2 separate regions of the Homo sapiens genome follow, and region 1 is linked to region 2. Evidence: promoter capture Hi-C in 16 types of primary human blood cells and fetal thymus (Javierre and others, 2016). All regions are on one chromosome and are shown on one strand. Each heading gives the region's core, a stretch centred on a gene start or on the middle of the fragment in contact. The rest is flanking DNA. Distances are from core to core; before and after follow the strand shown. Region 1 overlaps TRIM33 (tripartite motif containing 33). Region 2 holds the start of DENND2C (DENN domain containing 2C).

Evidence for each region. Contacts are between HindIII fragments. The CHiCAGO score rates a contact against its expected background, and 5 or more counts as called.
Region 1: a contact is called between a fragment that was not itself captured here and the fragment with the promoter of DENND2C in region 2, in 1 of 17 cell types (total B cells). The highest score is 5.5, in total B cells.

Annotation. Positions count from the first base shown.
Region 1 is chr1:114,463,909-114,470,277 of GRCh38, forward strand. TRIM33 (tripartite motif containing 33) reads right to left here. Exons shown (of 20, transcript NM_015906.4): 2 at 362-480. It also overlaps the pseudogene EIF2S2P5. Among named protein-coding and RNA genes, the nearest start is that of TRIM33, 44 kb to the right of the region's middle. The HindIII fragment of the contact is 2,270 bases long and covers 3,948-6,217 here.
Region 2 is chr1:114,666,894-114,673,279 of GRCh38, forward strand. DENND2C (DENN domain containing 2C) reads right to left here and starts at 3,156. Exons shown (of 21, transcript NM_001256404.2): 1 at 3,090-3,156. LOC124904354 (a long non-coding RNA gene) reads left to right here and starts at 3,518. Exons shown (of 2, transcript XR_007066465.1): 1 at 3,518-3,757; 2 at 3,956-4,061. AMPD1 (adenosine monophosphate deaminase 1) reads right to left here. Exons shown (of 16, transcript NM_000036.3): 16 at 6,205-6,379. The coding sequence ends at 6,221. RefSeq lists a silencer at 3,160-3,249 and an enhancer at 3,370-3,529. The HindIII fragment of the contact is 6,814 bases long and covers 460-6,386 here.

The sequences.
Region 1 (6,369 bases), core at 3,833-6,332, 200 kb before region 2:
AAGGCGCATGCCACCACGCCCGGCTAGTACTTTTATTTTTTGTAGAGATGGAGTCTCACTATGTTGCCCAAGCTGGTCTCGAACTCCGGGGCTCAAGCAATCCTCACACCTCAGCCTCCCTAAGTGCTGCGACAACAGGCGTGAGCCACCATGCCTGGCCCAAATTTGACATTTTAAGTAATAGCTTTAGTCTCATTTAACTAAGTTTGAGAGTATATAAGAAAGCTATCTTTAACTTTCTATTTGAAACAGGAATCCATAGCAGAACCACCCTAAATGACTTAACTATCCAAACATGTTTTTCTTATAACTTACAGTTTGATATCAAGATAGGAATATAAAGAAAAATTGAGAAGCATACCTGTTCTGATTTTTCATCAGAACTGCTAGGAGCTTCAGATGTGTCTTTCACAAAATAATTATCCACAAGGTCTATCTGTCTGCATTCTTGGCGGCATACTGGGCACCGTATTACACCAACTACAACATAAAATAACAACATTTTAAAATATTCTTCAGGAATAAAGAAATTGTGCATGATGTCCATATAGAAACATTAATTCATCACAGAGAAGACCAAAGAAATGAGCATCAAGAGCTCAGTAAAATAACCCAGCGAGTTATTCCATTTGGGTAAAAGTGATACTCTATTTAGGAAAAGAAAAAACAAGCATTATGATGCCTCCCAAGAAGTGCTTCCTCATTATAATATGTGGTTAGCTGAATAATTGCCCCAAAAGAAATCCAGATCCTGATCTTCGGAAACTATGAATATTAATTTACATGGTAAAAGGGACTTTACAGATGCGATTAAGGCTCTGGAGATGGTTTGTCCAGCGGGTCCTAAACGTGATCAAGTGACCTTATCAGGGGGAGGAAGAGGAAGGTAAGACTACAGAAGAGTGGAAGGCAATTATAATAACAATGGACGCAGGGAGTAGAGTGATGCACTTTATAGATGAAGGAAGAAGCCGGAGAAAAGAAAGACAGGCAACCACTAGAAGCTGAAAGAGACAAGGAAATGGATTTTCTCCCAGAGCCACCAGAAGGACCAGTCCTGCCACCACTTTTGACTTTAGCCCAGTGAAAGGGATTTCAAACTGCTGGCCTCCATAATGGTAAAACAGTAAGACAGGTGCTGTTTTAAGACACTAAGTTTGTGGTAATTTTGTTACAGCAGCAACAGAAAACTAATATACAATCTATCATCTTATAAATTCTGACTTGGTTAGAGATACTTGAATACATGCTAATATGAGAAGAAAGATCATCTGTCCCTTCACCTGCTAGTGTTCCAGGACTTATCAGAATGGATAAACTGTTGAGGTAACACATAGAGGCTAAATAACTGAAAATAGCACCAGAGTCAACACAACAAACTGACTACATGTCAGCCATGAAATAGAGGATACAGCATAAATGACACAATCCACACCTTCAAGAAGGATTCTAGATTAGTATGTAATTTTTATAGTTTATAATGTACACAATTACAGAAAGCACCAAAGACTGGGATATAAACCAAGTCCCCATGAGTTGTGTAGTACACAAACTGTAGTACCATATATAGTCATTCTGATGGAAAATGAAAACATAAATAAAACTTATCACTCTAAAAGAAGGGTGAGGTGGCTCATGCCTGTAATCCCAACACTTTGGGAGTGGAATGATCACTTGAGCCCAGGAGTTTGAGGCCAGCCTGGACAACATAGTGAGACGCCATCTCTAATTTTAAAATAAAATAATTAAAATTAAAAAATAACTACTGTTATATATTTAAAACAAAATACTGTTCTTATTAATATTTCCTCTTTATTTTACCAAAAACATGGTATAAAAATAAATAAAAAGAGCCGGGCGCGGTGGCTCACGCCTGTAATCCCAGCACTTTGGGAGGCCGAGGCGGGCGGATCACGAGGTCAGGAGATGGAGACTATCCTGGCTAACATGGTGAAACCCCGTCTCTACTAAAAATTAAAAAAAAGTCAGCCGGGTGTGGTGGCACGCGCCTGTATTCCCAGCTACTCAGGAGGGCGAGATAGGAGAATCGCTTGAACCCGGGAGGTGGGGGTTGCAGTGAGCTGAGATCGCGCCACTGCACTCCAGCTTGGGCGACAGAGAGACTCGGTCTCAAAAAAAAAAATAAATAAATAAAAAGATCTTGGTAAAAGGAAACACACAAAAACAATTTTTCAAACCAAAGGGAGAAATAGTAAAGTGAAGAGAAAGGGGAAAAGGAAAAATATTTTCACATTTGGGAAAGCATGACTTAAAAACCTCTTGAGAAAGTGTATTATATAAAACTACAAAGAAGATAAGTATAAGTAACTGTAGAGACAAAGATATGAGAGCAACTAACTCTTCTTAGAGTAAATCAGTTAAATTTTCACCAAAAAGATAACACTTCTAATAGGGTCTTGAAGAATGAACGTGACTATACTAGTGTGCAAGAAAGGGTTTATTTGGCAGGCCTGGGTTGCTCAAATGCTGCACATTCCTTCTTAAGAAAGGCCTATCTTCAGGACTGGCCCTTTACACGTTCCTGGGAGATGACCTCTGAGCCCGTGGAAAATTCTGCCTGGTAAGAGTACTTTTGTATACCTGAGGCTTTAAGCCATACCGTGTTTGACCTCTGGGTGCACTGGTGTCCAAGTAGCTGATTACCAGTCCTGTGGGGGCTGCGTGGCAATGAGACTGATCTCCAAAACTTAGACACCAAGGCTCAGGTGAGATTCCCTACTTGGCAATACTCCCAGTGTATTGTCCCACATTGTTGCTGGGGACATCTGAAAGCATGGGTCTGCTTTCTCTTGGGCTTTGCACCATGCACCTTTTCTCTTTGCTGATTTTAATCTGTATCTTTCAACTAAATTAGGGTTTCTCCATGTTAGTCAGGCTGGCGTCGAACTCCTGACCTCAGGTGACCGATCTGCTCGCCTTGGCCTCCCAAACTGCTCGGATTACAGGCGTGAGCCACCGCACCCCGCCAGATCAGTTAACTCTTCAAGAAGTTTATATGTATAAGTGTATTTAGTCCTCATAGCAGCCCTGTAAAGTAGGTTCTATTACTATCCCCACATTAAAGGTGAAAAAATTGAGGTTCGGAGAGATTAAGAAACATTCTGAAGGTCATGTGGTGACGTAAATGCCAAGATCTGAATTCAACTAACATGTCTGTGTCTACAGCTCATGCTCTTAAGAACTATGCTAAACTATTTCTCTAATTAAAACGCTGGTCTATCAGTAACAAAAGAGACTAAACTAAGGCAGTATTAAAGGAAATGTAGAGGATAAATCAGAGTATCAATTGGACTTAATAAATGACTGTATGATGAAGGAGTACTAAGAGTTACAATGAGGAAACAAATTAGAAATTCTAGATGATTCCCAAGTTCCTGGTGTGGGTAATGCATAGATAATTACATAACTACTCAAAATGAGGAAAAAGTGTTTTAGCCAGAAATGTAATGAGTAAGTTTTGGATAGATGGTGTTTAACTAGCATATTTCTGGAGCTGAAGGGTGTGGAGGGAGCTACCAGCATGTAAATAACTCAAATGTGAAATGTAGTTATGACTGCTGAGGAAGAATATTATCAAGGACAATAACCCTTGTTACACCAATATTTACAAGTCAAGCAGAAGAAACAGAGCTCTCAAATTTAGGAGACAGCTTTCAAACATTTTCAACTGCAAACCACAGGAAGTACACTTTACATCAAAGGCCAGGACACAAATACATACCTGTCTGTGTAACTGAAACAAACACAAGTCAAACAAGGATCAACTACTTTTCCATTAACCATTTATGATTAACTTGTTACCACTGTACCAATTTACTTTTAAAATTACATAATGCGCTTAAAGTCAGCTGACTCTTAGCATGACCTAACAATCTTTTCATTTAGCCCTAGCTTCTCTTTCCAATATTCTCAAGCAGTCACACCAAAGCTTTGGTCATCAACACCACTCTCCTTTCCCTTAGAAAATAATGAAAAATTACAGATATATTTTCAGATAGAGAGGGGAGTTGAGAGAATTTATACCTACAGCCTCTAATTACTTAAGTCAGAGCCCAGTCCAAATGATAAGAGAGTCCTGTGAGTTAAGTGTTGAAAGACTGGAATGAATTATCCAAAGAATAGGAAAAAGAAGCTGGATGGAAAAAGATTGTCAAGTCGTGCCAGAAACCTCAAACTGGAGAAGTATAACCATGCCTAAGTCTAGTTCCTCTCTCCACCATGCACCTATCTCTTATTCATCTCTATTCCCACCCTATGTGCACACATTAATAAGGGGCTAGAGAGTGCAGTGGTGTGAGAGGTAACAGCAGGAGCAGCGCTGCTGCTGGGGGCTAGGGCTGATTTGTCTGACTTCCTGTCTGTGCCTAGCCCATTCGAGCTGCAGCCATGTCTGGGGATGAGATGATTTTTGATCCTACTATGACCAAGAAGTAAAATCAGCAGCAGCAGTCCTTTAGTTAGAGGAGGAAGGGGATACCCAAACAGAGGAGACCCAGCCCTTAGAAACAAAACAAGTGGCGCCAGAGCCAACTGGGGACAAAGAATTGGAAGCTGATGAAGAGAACAGTAGGGAAAAAGGTGCTTCTGATGATCTAGATGACTTGAACTTCTTTAATCAAAAGAAAAGAAAAGAAAAAAACAAAAAAGATGTTTGATACTGATGAAGCTGAAGAAGGTGTAAAGGATCTTAAGATTGAAAAAATATTCAAGAACCAGCTGAACCAGAGTATGACCTTAATATTATGCTTGGCAATAAAAAGAAGAAAAAGAAGAATGTCAAGTTCCCAGATGAGGATGAAATACTAGAGAAAGACAAAGTTCTAGAAGATGAAGACAGCAAAAAAGATGACAGTATCTCATTCAATAATCATACAGGCCCTGCTAGGGCAGTCTCAAATACACATAAGGAGCTACTGAAGCGAGTGTGCAACATCACGAGGGAAAAGAATCCAGATGTGGTTGCTGAAAAGGAAATCTGTCATCAAACCTCTACAGGTCATTTGAGTAGGAACCAAGAAAACTTATTTTGTCAACTTTACAGATATTTGTAAACTATTACATCATCAGCCCAAACATCTTGCATTTTTGTTGGCTGAACTGGGTACAAGTGGTTCTATAGATGGTAATAACCAATTTGTAATCAAAGAAGATTCCAACAGAAACAGAAAAAGTCTTCAGAAGATATATTAAGGAATACTTTTCACACATGCTGATCACTGGACACACACCTGCAGAAGAGACTCAACTCTACTTCTTACAGTGAGCAACTTATTGTTGATAATCTGTTGCAAGTACAAAACCAGTTTCCAGACTGTCATGGGCAAGCAAGCACAGCTCCGTGCCAAAGCTGACTAATTTGCTAATCACTGATTTTACAACGTGTGTTGTGGAGATTTGGCGGGACAGGTTTGTCATCAGAATGGATATACTGTTGTATTAAAAAAACAAGATTAAAAAGCTGCCAAGTTCTTTGATGAGTGGTCAGTTGGTCTGAAATTCTTGCAAGATGCCGCTGTTCAAACTGTTGACATAATCATGGCCTCTTCTCTCTCTGTCAGAGAGATGTGATATGGGGTAAGGAAGTGTTTTTCAAAATTGTTCACTGGCATCTGTAAGATAATTTAGTTCTTATAACAGAGCAAGAAAATCAAATTTAAAAAATAGAGACCTAGAAAGCAATATGTATTTGCCAAAAAGGAATGATGGCAAAAAAACAATAATTATGTTCTGGAGCAACAGGTCACTGATCTTTACTAAAGAAATTTTATAGCAATGGAGGTAGCGGCAGACAGACATTAGCATGAGCGTGGGGAACTGAAGATGTGAAATGCTGAATATGTTGCCCACTCTTACAAAAAACTTGGCAATGAAGAAAAGAGACAAAATGACCTGTCAATAGAGGGAGAATAAAGAAGAATGCTGCTTTATACAGGGAAAACTTGGAGATATGATACAGAAAGTAACTGAAATAATTTATAATAAAAATGGCTTAAATCCTATAAAATAATATCATAGAGTAACATATATTTAGATAATGTCAGTAAGTATTTCCAAAGTTAATTTTATCACTTAAGAATGAAGCTGGCTTAAGGTGAAGTCATAGTCATATATGGCCACATATGTGCACATACAATCATATACGAAGAACACTAATATCTTATAATAAACTAAGTATAACTAATATCTATTATCATAAAGCTTGTTGGTATTCTTAGGGCTTCTTATATTCTTGAAGTTATACAGGAATATCTTGTTTTACTGCATTTAGCTTTATACTGCTTCACAGATGCTGAGCTTTTATAAATTGAAGGTTTGTGGCAACCCTGCATTAACCAAATTAGTAGACGC
Region 2 (6,386 bases), core at 1,906-4,405:
AATGAAGGGAAGTGAAATACCACATTACCTAGCAATTTTAGTGATCCTAATGCAATCAGCAAGGAAGCTTTGCAATTTTATTTTTTCATCTTATTTCCAGGCACCATCTCCTTTAGCCAAACCACCCATTTCTACACACCCTGGCCTTCAGTACAATGGACTACAACACATTCCTCAAACATACCATATACTTGCACACTTATCCCTGGTTTTCATTCATATCTCCTGTTTCCTGACCCAATTTCAGCAAACTCCTATTCATCCTTCAAAGCCAAATTTAATATCTTCTCTCTAATCGTCCTCCCTACCACACGCAGAATGATTTTTCCTCATCAGTGGTTAAATTCTATCTATACTTCTTTCTTTTTCTTGCAACTCTTCAAACGTACCTAAATCTATACTTCTTTACAGCTCTTATCATGCTGAAATTGTAGAGCCTTATTTACATGTTGGGTTATAAGCTTCTTAAAGACAGGGAAGCATTTTCTCTTCTTGAATCTAATACTTAATTTACAGTCTGAGAACAGATATTTTTAACTTCTTAATGAAAGAAGTTATGAGGTGCTTTTTAATGAAAAATAAGCACCTCATATTGTTAAGATAATGCCATAACTGTTGTTACTGAGGGACTGAGAGCTTAGAATCATCCCCATGTCATTCACTGGCAACAATAACAAAAAAAGGGTTCCCACAGATAAACTATAATTACATCGTTTTAATTGCAATAAAACTGGTATTGCAATACCAGTTTATTTTTTCCTCTTTCTTTCCTTCTTTTTGAAATAGTTTTTTATAGACCTCTTTTTAAAATACCTATTAGATGTCATTTGTATCTCACTCACAGAATTTGAAACTCAGTATAGCGCAAAGGTTACAATCAGGTCCTTGGAGAATGACTGATTTGAATCCTACTTTTGCTATCTAGGTTGTCTAATCATGGGCAAGTTACTCAACCTCTCTATGCCTCTTAATGAGATAATCATAATAACATCCCTCATGGTGCTGTTGTGAGGATTAAGTAAGCTAATACATGTAAAGAATTTAGAATACTGCCTGGCACAGACTAGGTACCAATGAATGATAGCTGATGTTGTTATTGTTACCATCCGCTTTAAAAACAGCTTTTGTTTTTTCAGTACTTATTTTAGCCCACTTGGTAGAATGGAATCTCCTAGATGACAGGAATTACATACTGCTCTTACATAAATATAATCTTGTGCCTATTGTGTAGTAGGCCCTCAAAAAACAATGTGAATGTAAGGTTTCAGACCTCCAAGATCAAGAAATTGTAAATCACAGAAAAATTTATACATGGAGTACGTTTAAAACTCATGTTTTAAAGTAGCTTCAAAAGACCCATCCTCCACTGAATTGCTGAAACATGTTTAAGTAAAACTTCTAAAGCAACACACACAAAAATTACATTCACTAGTAACTTTCCCTCTACTACTTCATTTAATTTGATCTTGGTATCCAGTGGTCTAAAATTCTTGCCTATAACTTAAGACTCACTACAGACCATTTAAAAGTAATATAATTTCCAGCTTTAGAAAACTGCTTATTGTCATTAAGAAAAATAAATATTCTTCCTTTATTGCTGCATTTAAAAAACGTACTGCCACATTCAACACACACACACACACACACACACACACACACACCCCAACTAATGAAAGACCAAGACACATAATTACTACATTTCCTGGTTTCTGCCTGGCAAACTCAGAACAGGCCTACAAGTATCCCCAGCAAAAGCCTACAGGTTACAAAACTGCCATTTTCTTTTTTATTTCCCATCTCCCCGCTAAAATCCCTCGCACACATATCCATAGTAAAGAACAAAAACGTCTATAATAAAGGCTGTATGAAAAAATATGGCTATATATTAACAATATTTTGGAAGATTTAAATCTTCCTATAAGCAGCCCGTCAATTCACAAAAACAAATTAAAGTCTTGATTTGGAACAATATTCCCAGCTTACTTTAGCAGGTATCTTAAACTACAACTATTTAGCTAAGACAAAGAAGTAGATTATTTGATTGCTACAGACTTCGCGGTAAATGATTCAGCAACAGTGTATAGATAACACCACTGTGCTATTCTAGAAAATTTCATCAATCATTTAAAAATAGGACACACTCAAACAATGGGGGTCACTTTGTGGGAAAAGTTTAAACAACTTATTTACACAGTAAGCAAGGATCTATCACTTTATCTAAAACACTGCAGAAGAATCACTAGCTTTAGGGTAAACGTTTGTAAAGTGCCTACTATGTACCAGGCAAGTAGTAGTTGCTTCACAGAATATACACGCTCCACACGCACGTTCAAATATCTGACATTTGTAGAATACTGTCACTCATCTGATTTGACCCTGAGAATACCCATAGGCATGAACTTGCCAGTTTCACAGTTACGGAAAGAGAGGCCCAGGAAGTTAATTTGGCCGAGGTATCACATCTGGTTCCGCGGGTTCTGGCCCTAGACTTGAGCCTTTTGACTCATAATCTAATCATCAGCTGCTATACAGCTCTAGTTACTCAAAAGCTCTTAGGTGTTCCACTGTCAGACTTTTAAATTAAAATTCTACTTGACAACTTTCGGTATTGTGCGTATTAGATGCTGTTAAGAATCAAAACACCAAAAAAAGCAAAATATTGTTTGGAAGTGCATCGTCCCAGCATGTCGAAGTTCAAGCTCACTGGCTAATTTTGGAGAAAGCCCGCGTTTCCCCAGGCTGCCGGGCGCTCCCTCCCTCTTCCCCAGCAGAGAGCGGCGCCCAGCCTAGGGGTCCCCAAGCCCCTGAGGTAGCGAGGAGGTCTTCAGCCAGGCTCCGCCACAACCCGTGCGGCCACGAGAGGACGTCCCAAAGCTGGGCCCAACAACCGGTTGCTCCTCCGGACGGAGGAGGTGCCGAGACAGCGGGGCGCGGAGACACCACCTCCGCCAGCTCGGCTCGCACCGTCCGAGGACTACGCCGCGGCGCCACAGCCCCGCACCCGACGCCCAGAAGGGTGATGCCGACAGCCCCGAGAGTCCGAAGCCCCTGCGGCTTAAAACCCCGCGCCGAATCACCCCGACTCTTACCTGTCTGTACCTCAACGTTGTCTCCTGTGGCCAAGCTAGTCTCCCGGGTATCACTCGGGTCCGCTCCGTCCCGCCCCCGCAGGCCCTGCCGAAGGCCCCGTCCCGGCTGCAGCCCCACCCCCTAGCCCCGCCCTCCCTGGCAAGGCTCAGTTCTTATTGGCTCCTATTCCCACCCCTCACGCTATGCCCGCCTCCGACACCGCCCCGGCCGGCGGTGAGGGGAACCACCACGCCTCAAGTCCGCTGTATGGCCAGAACCTTGCCAGGACCTCGGTCACTGCAGTTCCAGCAGGCGGGCGACCAGTGTCACCGTCGTCCGGCCAAGCCCTCGAGCCAGAGCTCCATCGCCTTCGCCTGCCGTCGCATCGGCCCCACGGAGACGGCCCTATGCTTCATGTGAAGGTTTACTCTTCACAACTACTCAACAAGATAAAGCCTGGCTTAATCAGGGAATCCAAGCACTGTTTCCTAGGCTGACCTCAGTGAGCAAACAATTGCACTACGGTGCCAACTTGAAACGTCAAGAGAAGCAAATAACTCTCGCGGCACCTCAGGCTTGGAATCTCAGAACGGGGGTGCCTTGATACTCCCAGTGCGTGAGGTCAGCCCCCACGCCCTGTTGAGACACACATGCCTAAGCGCTCCGCCTGCAACACGCTCTTGCTTAGGTATGTGCGTGGTGTTGTGCCTACTGCAAGCTGTAACCCAGTTTCACCGAGGCTGCGGGACAAGGATCAGTTGAGCCTGTTTCCCAGGCACTCGCTAACCACCCCACCCCGCCTCGCCCCGCCCCACCCCACCCCACCCCACCCAGCCAGAGCCTCTTGGGTCTGGTGACCAAACTCTTCCTACATTTGTTCACACAGAGGTACCAAAATAGAAGACTACCAGAAAGAGAGGTGTTTAGTTACGTATCACGGATGACTGTCACAAGCAAACTTAACCCAAACAATAAAGGTAGCATATCCCAAACCGTTGTGAAACTATCACCTGTAGACAGTAAAACAGAAATTACATTCTATGATGGGGGAAAAAAAAGTAATGACATACTTAAAAAAAATCATGTCCCAATGAGGAAATAAATGTGGATATTGTTTGTAGTAAATTTTGCACACTGATCATTATGGGCTTCCCCCACCAAAAAAAAAAAAATTCTTATATAATGTGTCTATCTATTTATTTATTGAGACAGGGTCTCTTTGTGTCACTCACACTGGAGTGCGGTGGCCCAATCATAGCTCACTTGAAGTCTCAACTTCCTAGGCTCAAAGAATCGTCCCACCTCGGCCTCCCAAGCAGCTAGTATTATAAGCATGCACCACCACCCCCGGCTAATATTTTTATTTTTATTTTTTTGTAGAGACAGGGTCTCGCTATGTTGCCCAGGCTGGTCTCCAACTCCCGAGCTCAAGCAGTCCTCCTGCCTCAGCCTCCCAAAGTGCTGGGATTACAGACATGAGCCACTGCACCCAGCCCAGAAATGTATTTTTTGACCCCTGCATTCAGGAAGATTATTTGGCAAAATAAGGCAGGTTGAATTCCAAGTATCACGTATGAAACCAAATTTATAGATTAATAAATGAATTCACATGTATGTATTCTACTGCCCTCTCATGGGTAAGATGGAGATATACATAATGGTAGTTAATGCCCTTTGAAGTCTGAGAATACAGTGTTTAATGTAGCAATTTGTACTATTTTGATGATGAGGAGGCCAAGGTAAAATAAAATCTGGTTCTTTAAAGGGTTCACAAATACTCAACAAACAAAACTTCAACTTCAGAAATCAGGAAGAGATTCTTACACCAGAGCTAGTACAAACATGCCATCAGGGTTACACCTATGCTTATGGCTGCATGTGTAGAATATAGAAACGTGCAGAAATTTGCTTTCAATTTTTTTTCCATTTGAAAGTTCAGGCTGGGCACAGTGGCTCACGCCTGTAATCCCAGTACTTTGGGAGGCCAAGGCACATGGATCGCTTGAGCATAGGAGTTTGAGACCAGCTGGGGTGACATGGTGAAACCGCGTCTCTACAAAAGGTTCAAAAAAGTAGCTGGGTGTGGTGGCATGTGCCTGTAGTCCTGGCTACTCGGAAGTCTGAGGTAAGAGGATCACCTGAGCCTGGGAGGCCGAGGCCGCGGTGAACTGTGATTACACCACTGCACTGCACTCCAGCCTGGGTGACAGAGCAAGACCCTGTCTCAAAAAAAAGAAAAAAGTTCATTACTTTTGAAGACATTTCACAAAATTCTATTTTTTACTTGTAGCCACACTATAACTTCATGCTGAGGACAACTAGAGGATAGGAATGAAATCTTATTCTGTATACCTTTGGTGTTTAGAATAGTACCTGATAATTTAGCTATTTGATCAATAATTGTTTATTGAATAAGTTGAATGAAATGTCAGCCCAGCCACTAGATGCCAACACAGTTGTATGTGTGGAAGTATCATCTGCCCATTTGGAATTTCACCTGACCTTAAGTAATAGGCATGCTTCTTAAAAGTTATATGTACATTTTACTTTGGTAAGCAAAATCATTTAAAATGTACCAGTTTAGCTCACTATAATCTTATTGTCAATTACATCCTTAAAGCTAAGAATCCTTTTGTAAGATAAATTCTCCCTCAATATAATAACTCATAAATACTGATTTTCTATATTGAGGTACGCCCTCTGGTTTTGTCTAAAAAAGCCACTATTCACTTATACCTTGTCAAAGAACTTTTTAGTGGTTCTAAGTGCCTTAAGCAAATTTCATGCTATAAACCAGAAGCCTATCTCCCAAAAAGTCATTTGCTTGTATTTTTGCCCAGCTTTAATAGATATTTTGCCTGAAAGTCATAGAGACTGCAGTCAGAGAAACCCACGTTCCCACTGCTACCCTTCACCAGGTATATCCTTGTGCAGGTTATTAACCTTATTAGCTTTAGTGTACTAATTTCCCCCAAAATGGAGATAATAATATCTACTTTATAAAGGTTGTGAGAAGGATTAAATGAAATAATTTCAGTGGAACATCTAATACTTTCCTTGGTTTATAGTAGGGACTCAATAACAGGTAACTATTATTATTCAAACTCTACAATGAAATTCTCACTCATATTATTATTTGGTTTACTTTTTTTTATTCTGTTGATTTAAGACCCTCAGCAATTAAATTGAGTTCATAACACCAGGTTTCATAGCGATAGGCCATGCGGATTTGGGCTACATTTGTCCTCCGGATATCATTTCCAGCAGGGCCTTCCTCAAGGTAATTGTCGCCCAGAAACTTTACTTTCTCCTATAAG